Linked DNA regions of Homo sapiens: region 2 is linked to region 1. The links are contacts of gene promoters, found by promoter capture Hi-C in blood cells and fetal thymus (Javierre and others, 2016). All regions are on one chromosome and are shown on one strand. The core of a region is centred on a gene start or on the middle of the fragment in contact, and the rest is flanking DNA. Distances in the headings are between cores, read along the strand shown.

What was found. The method cuts DNA at HindIII sites, captures the fragments that hold promoters and counts their contacts. A CHiCAGO score of 5 or more calls a contact.
Region 2: a contact is called between a fragment that was not itself captured here and the fragment with the promoter of SRRM3 in region 1, in 2 of 17 cell types (M1 macrophages and megakaryocytes). The highest score is 8.2, in M1 macrophages.

What each region holds. Positions count from the first base shown.
Region 1 is chr7:76,200,646-76,204,098 of GRCh38, reverse strand. It overlaps SRRM3 (serine/arginine repetitive matrix 3), which reads right to left and starts at 2,203. Exons shown (of 15, transcript NM_001110199.3): 1 at 2,032-2,203. RefSeq lists a silencer at 2,117-2,356. The HindIII fragment of the contact is 9,812 bases long and covers 418-3,453 here.
Region 2 is chr7:76,113,036-76,116,488 of GRCh38, reverse strand. It overlaps the pseudogene GRPEL1P3. Among named protein-coding and RNA genes, the nearest start is that of MDH2, 67 kb to the right of the region's middle. The HindIII fragment of the contact is 241 bases long and covers 1,684-1,924 here.

The DNA.
Region 1 (3,453 bases), core at 954-3,453:
CAGAGGTCAGCAAGAGGTTGGGAGGCAGAGGAGGTGCAGAACGGGTGCAGCAGTGAGCAGATGGGACTGTCAGACCCAGACCCCCCCTTTGGCAGGTGTGACGGGGTAGAGGCACCCCGCTGGCCGGTTCAAGGCACATTCTACCTCTAAGTATCCCAGTGACCTTGTGGGAGTCACCTCCTTACTGCACTGTATGCCCTCACCCACCTGCCTCAGGCTCCCCACCTGTAAAGCTGGCATCATAAATCAAGACACTGGCATTGAACTGGGCCTTGATACTCAGAGGATGGGACAGGTCATCAGTAACTCTCCTGCCTCCAGGAGGACAGCGCGAGTGGCTTCATGACCTTGGGAAAGTCACTCAAGCTTCATTTCTCAGCTATGAAATAGGGACAATGATGCCTTCCTCATGAAGCTTCTGTGAGGATTAGCTGAGTCAACCGTTGCATTGTGCCCAGCATGGAGCTGGGCATGAGGCTCTCAACCACTGTTCATCTCCTCTGGGAACAGAAAAATGTGCTTCAAATATCACTGAACACTATTCCACATTTATCCAGCTCTTCTTTAAGAAATTCTTACTTGTCTCCTATTTACTAACACTCACCCAGCATTTTATACCGTAAAAGTAGTCTCCCATCTCCTTATCCAGATTATTTCTTTCAACAGCAAAGTAGACATTGCTAACACTACACCTGTTTTACAGATTGAAAACAGACTCAGAAAGGTCAATGGCTTACCTGAGGTCACATAACCTAGATTTGATCCCATGTCTTTCTGACATCAGAGTCCATGACTCCCAACCCACATACCCCTACCTCTTAAAACCCAGTTGACTCTTTAGTCAGTCTTCAAGAATACCTCCTCCACCCCACAGGAGAGTGGGATGGGGCATAAAGTTAAGGAACCAGAAAGCTACTGCTGTGTGGGAACAATTTCCTAGCCAGCTGGGTCCTATTTTTGACTGAGGAAGAAGCTGGCACAAACTGGGGCCATGACCTTAAGATGCTCCCTGGACAGAGGAACTTGTGCACGTCTCTCCGTCAAAGCCCAGCACCTGCCTTTTCTCTTGCCATGGGACAAAAGACCAGCTCAAGCCCCCGATGCTAGGGTGAGTGAGGTCTTAGGACAGCGAGAAGTTATGGCTGGGATAGGGCACAGGCATTGAAGTACCACGTCAGACCTTGGTACAACCTTCCCTTCCTCCCACTAAATCTCTCCCCACAATGGATCTGCTGTCAGGAGTAGGAACTGCAGGAGGCTTCAACACTGTCCAGGCAGGAGCCCTGGGAGGGAGGGGGAGGCGGAGGCAAGGCAGAGGCTGCGTCTTTTCTCAGCTCTCTTCTTTACCAGGAATTCACTCTGGCGCAGGTCTAACTCTGGGCTAGAAACTCTCTCTGGGCGTCCGTGGTTGGGGTGGGGGGTGTGCACAGAGAACCCCCTCCCAAATTCCTAGTAGCTATTTTCTCTTCTGTGTCCTCCATCCTCTTCCCAGTGCAAGAGTAAATGCCATCCTGTGAGACCCAGTTCTCCTTGCCAGCTCCTGCCTCCCTAGGGGCATTTGGGTAGCCGGGAAAGGGGCCAGGCTGTCCCCTGGGCCGGCACCTCCTGCTGGACAGAGGCCCAGCATCCAGGTGGGGGCCTGCTCCCTTCACCAGGGCCAGTGACCAGCATCTCCACAGGGTTACTGCATCGGTCCTCCCTTCCCTGGGGAGCAGGTCCTTCTCCTCAGTGGGACTGCGGTTGGGGGGCCTCCCTGGCACCCTCATGGACTAGGCCATGGTCATTTATGCCCAGGGGAGTCCTGCCCATGACCCCAAAGGTCTCCACTGTCTCCATCCCTCTCAGTGAAATGAATGTTCCTCATCTCTGCTCCCCGGGCGCCTGGCACCCCCGGACAGACGCCCTCGCCGACCTCCCACACTGCCCCTCTGCTCGGGGGAGCCTGCAGACCACGGGGGTGCTGGGGAGGCCCGAGCTTCCACCCAGCCCCAGCCCCTCGGGGATATGCCCCCGCCCCACAGGCGCTCTCACCTCACCGCTGACCGCCGCGATCTACCGGGCGCTGGGGCCAGGCCCTCGGGTCCCGCCGGTCCGGGCTGCCGCCTAGTCTGGGCTGAGTTGGGCAGGGCAGCTCCGCGGCCCCCACGGCCCCGCACCCTCTGCCTCCCCGCGGGTGCTGCCGCCGCTTGCTGAAATGCTGGACAGCGCACCGCCACCGAGGCGCCTCTCTGCTCGCCCGCCAGCCAGAGCGGCCCAGCCCCGCGCCCGCAGCGCCCTCCGCAGGCCTGGAGGAACGCCCGCAGCGGAGGCAACAGCCCGGGCGGCTGGGCCGGGCCGTCTCCCGGCCGGCTCCCCCTCCTCCCCGCCCCCTTCGCCCCCCTCCCCCCCTTCCCCTCGCCCCTCACCTCCCCACACCCCCGCCCCTATCCCCAGCCCCCGGGGACATCTGTTTCCCCCACTTGCGAGAGGAGGCATGTCAGCCCTGGAAGGCGCCTGGGGCAAGGGAGGTTATTAGTTTGGATCTGGGAAATGCAGTCGGTGTGCAGAGGCCTCGCCAGGACACTCTCTTCCCACCCAGTGTTAAAGAAGGCACCAGGGGCTGGGCGCGGTGGCTCACGCCTATAATCCCAGCACTTTGGGAGACTGAGGCGGGAGGATCACTTGAGGCCAGGAATTCGAGACCAGCCTGGCCAACATGGTGAAACCCAGTCTCTACTAAAAATACAAAAATTAGCCAGGCGTGGTCGCAGGCACCTGTAATCCCAACTACTCAGCTACTTGGGAGGCTGAGGCAGGAGAATCGCTTGAATCTGGGAGGCGGAGTTGCAGTGAGCCAAGATCGCACCATTGCACTCCAGACTGGGCGACAAGAGCAAGACTTAGGGTCAAAAATAAAATAAAATAAAATAAAATAAAAGGCACCAGGGAGGTGAGGTGGGAGGATCGCTGGAGCCCAGGAATTTGAGGCTGCAGTGACCTATGGTGGCGCCACTGCACTCCAGCCTGAATGACAGAGGCTGTCATTTTTTGACACCATCTCAAAAATTTAAAAAAAAAAAAAGGAGGGTGTAGTGTGAGAGACATCCTAATGGAGACAGGAGATTTTAAATTATTTTTTTAAATTTTAAAATTTTGGCTGGATGCAGTGGCTCACATCTGTAATCCTAACATTTTAGGAGGCTGAGGTGGGAAATCACTGAGCTCAGGAGTTTGAGACCAGCCAGGCCAACATGAGGAAACCCTGTCTCTATGAAAAATACAAAAATTTGCCAGATGTGGTGGCATGCATGCACCTGTGGTCCCAGCTACTTGGGAGGCTGAAGTGGGAGGAAGGCTTGAGCCTGAGAAGCGAAGGTTGCAGTGAACCAAGATTGCTCCATTGCACTCCATCCTAGGTGACAGAGCCTCAATTTGTCTCAAAAACAAAAACAAAACAAAAAAACAAAAACAACA
Region 2 (3,453 bases), core at 555-3,054, 87 kb after region 1:
TTTAGAAAATTGCTCAACTTGGATTTGATGTTTTTCTTTTGCTCGGAAGTGTGATGTGTTCTTGTTCTATAATAATTTAGTAGACTTCTAAATTAGTGTACTAAAGTAAAGAGGTAATTAACTAGTACAAATATCACCATGCCTATTTGTAAGGCATCACTAGTTTATATCAGACACCTGGATATGGCCTCAGATTTCTCCTGTTTGAAGAGCCACTAAGCCACCTATTTTCCATTTCTACACTGTGTGTTTCATAGTTAGGTGGCCAAGTCCTGTGCATGTATCTCCGGTATCTTTAGTGTCCAACATGAAGTCTGCACATACTGTATATGAAAGAGATGTTTTTTAAACTGAATGTCCCTAGAGAAGCCCTTTTGGCCTTTGGCTGCAAGTTAATGTCCTTTCAAATAAGTAAATAAACACTCTTTACACCTGAACTAACCTAACTAACTTCAGATCAGTAATCATATAAATTTCTTGGGGCAGTTCCTCTGACGTTGTGAAGAATGTGGTAGTATAAAATAGCCTTTGTACTCAATTTATCAAAACTGCTTAAAAACTTTAAATTCATGTTATTCCCACCAACTAAACTTTCTAGATGGTATCCTAAGGGCCTATGCAATATAAGAATTCATTCTTACCTGTTTAAAAACTGCCCAGGCAGCCTTGCCATAAACGGATAATTGTTCCTACTGCATCCCACAGTATTTGCTTTCTAAAATTTCTGAGATCCAGAAGAGTGATCCGCTCTTGCCCACATCTTTTCCCACATCATTTCTGTTTTCTCCAATCCCTGTACATGCCGGCGGTGAGCAGCCTTTTCAGCATATGGGTCAACTCCAGAAAAATCTTTTCCGAACTGCATTAAATTGTTTTTTTTTTTTTTTGAGACGGAGTCTCGCTCTGTTGCCCAGGCTGGAGTGCAGTGGCACAATCTCGGCTCACTGCAAGCTCCGCCTCCCAGGTTCACGCCATTGTCCTGCCTCAGCCTCCCGAGTAGCTGGGACTACAGGCACCCGCTACCATGCCCGGCTAATTTTTTTGTATTTTTAGTAGAGGCGGGGTTTCACCATCTTAGCCAGGATGGTCTCGATCTCCTGACTTCGTGATCCGCCCGCCTCGGCCACCCAAAGTGCTGCGATTACAGGCGTGAGCCACCGTGCCCGGCCTGCCTTAAAATTTTTAAGCCATTTTATCTTTATCGAGAAACACTTTATCTACACTTAGATGTTTTTTGTTTTTAGAATTTAAATTTCAGCACCTAATAATTTTCATACCCACTGCAGTATTTCCATGTAATGCTGTACTGTGCAACACATCTCTCTTTCTTTCCTTTCCTTCCTTCCTTTCTTTTTTTGAAGCAGGGTGTTACTCTGTCTCCTAGACTGGAGCCCAGTGGCACAGTCACAGCTCACCACAGGCTTGACCTCCCAGACTCAAGTGATCCTCCTGCCTTAGTCTCCTGAGTAGCTGGGACTATAGGCACACACCACCATGTCTGGCTGAGTTTTTTAGTTTTTGTAGAGACGGGATCTCCCTGTGTTGCCCAGGCTAGTCTTGAACTCCTGAATTACAAGTGATCCTCCCAACTTGGCCTCCCAAAGAGCTGAGATTACAGGTGTGAGCCACTGCACCCAGTGCTATTCAGCAAATATTGTTGTTTGCTAATACTTTTCTGAAGCTTGTTTATTTTGCTCTGTTTTCTTTCTTGCTATTCTTAGTAGCTATTTAATGTTAAAACATGTATACTCTTGTAGTACCTGTATAGGTCCTTTAAACAAGATATTTCCATTGCAAATGAGATAGGCAGCCATGTCATTAACACAAAATCCTTTTATGTTGAACATACGATTGTCACCAGCTACTTTTCTGTTCTTACAAATCATAGCAAGAATTTAAATTGATGAACCAAATTAATAAAGCTTAATTTTTAAATTTTTAAATTTTGAAACCGAATATGTACAACATAACTTGAATAATAATAATAATAATTATTATTAAAATGGGCTGGAGTGCCCATTTTTTGGGTTTCTCAATTCAGTTATTTTTATTTTTTTAATTTTTATTAATCCCTTAATACTCCCTTCAGGGCAATCAATTCAGTTTCTACAACAAGACATCTTAGTAGTCATTCTGATAAGCTCTTTTTTCTCAGGAAGCAGTTAAGCACAACGTAACACCTTTTGCTTGTTTCATTGTTCTTTTTCTAGCCAGTCCTTCTGTAAAAATCTGATACTGAGCTGGGCACGGTGGCTCATGCCTGTAATCCCAGCACTTTGGGAGGCCAAGGTGGGTGGATCGCCTGAGGTCAGGAGTTCGAGACCAGCCTTGCCAGCATTGTGAAACCCTGTCTCTACTAAAAATACAAAAAATTAGCTGGGCGTGGTAGTGGGCGCCTGTCATCCCAGCTACTAGGGAGGCTGAGGCAGGAGAATCACTTGAACCTGGGAGGCGAAGGTTGCAGGTAGCCGAGATCGCGCCATTGCACCTCCAGCCTTGGCAACAGGAGCAAAAAAACTCTGTCTCAAAGAAAAAAAAAAAGTGATACTGATTATATATTATGTACTTAAAGCCTTGTACCTGCATGAGGACAAAAAATATACAGTTTAAGACATGACTATATCTTCATTTCCATGATCTTTCCCACAATAAGTAGAAAGATAAGTGTCCTTCTATATTTTAAAATGACTCCATTGTTCTAAAGTGTATATTTATGCAAGGAGTAATTTGCCCTGCTGTGTAATTACTGTAAGAACAGAAGTATGTATCCAAAACAAAGCAACCTTAACCAGCAAATAGGCTTTAATTATTGTGAGAACCTCAGCGGGGGTAGCAACCCAGGACCTAATTTTAAAACTAGAAGCAGTGAGGATGAGAAGTGAGGCAGTGGAAATAGCTCTGAGCTCTCAGAATCTGTAAGTCATAAGGAAAAAAATAGATAAAAGATGTATTTGATAATTATGCTGAAGGAATAAAAATAATTTAAAACATTTCATAGAAGCATATAGTGATGGGCGAGGGGAAACTTAAATCATCATCCCGGGGCAGCCACGGCGGCTCCATGCGTGAGGCTGGTGCCACGCGGTCTCCCGGTGTTGGCATTGTCTCCAGGCCTTCTCCTCAGTTCTGCACACAGCTACAAAACAAAAGAACAGTTGCCAGCACTTGGAAGAGGATGTGGATCCAAACCAAATGGAGGACAGATACTCCCTCTATGGACAAGATACTCATGGAAGAAGTCAAGTTAGAAGAGCAGCTGAAGGAGGCTGTGGAAGAAGATAAGCAAGCACTGGCAGATACTGAGGGCTCAGAGCAGAGCAGCCAAAAATTGGTGGAGGAGGGAAATATGTATAGCATTCAGGGCTTCTGCAAGGACTCGTTAGAGGTTGCAGATGTTTTGGAGAAGGCAACACAGTGTGTTCCAGAAGAAGAAATTAAAGACAATAACCCTCA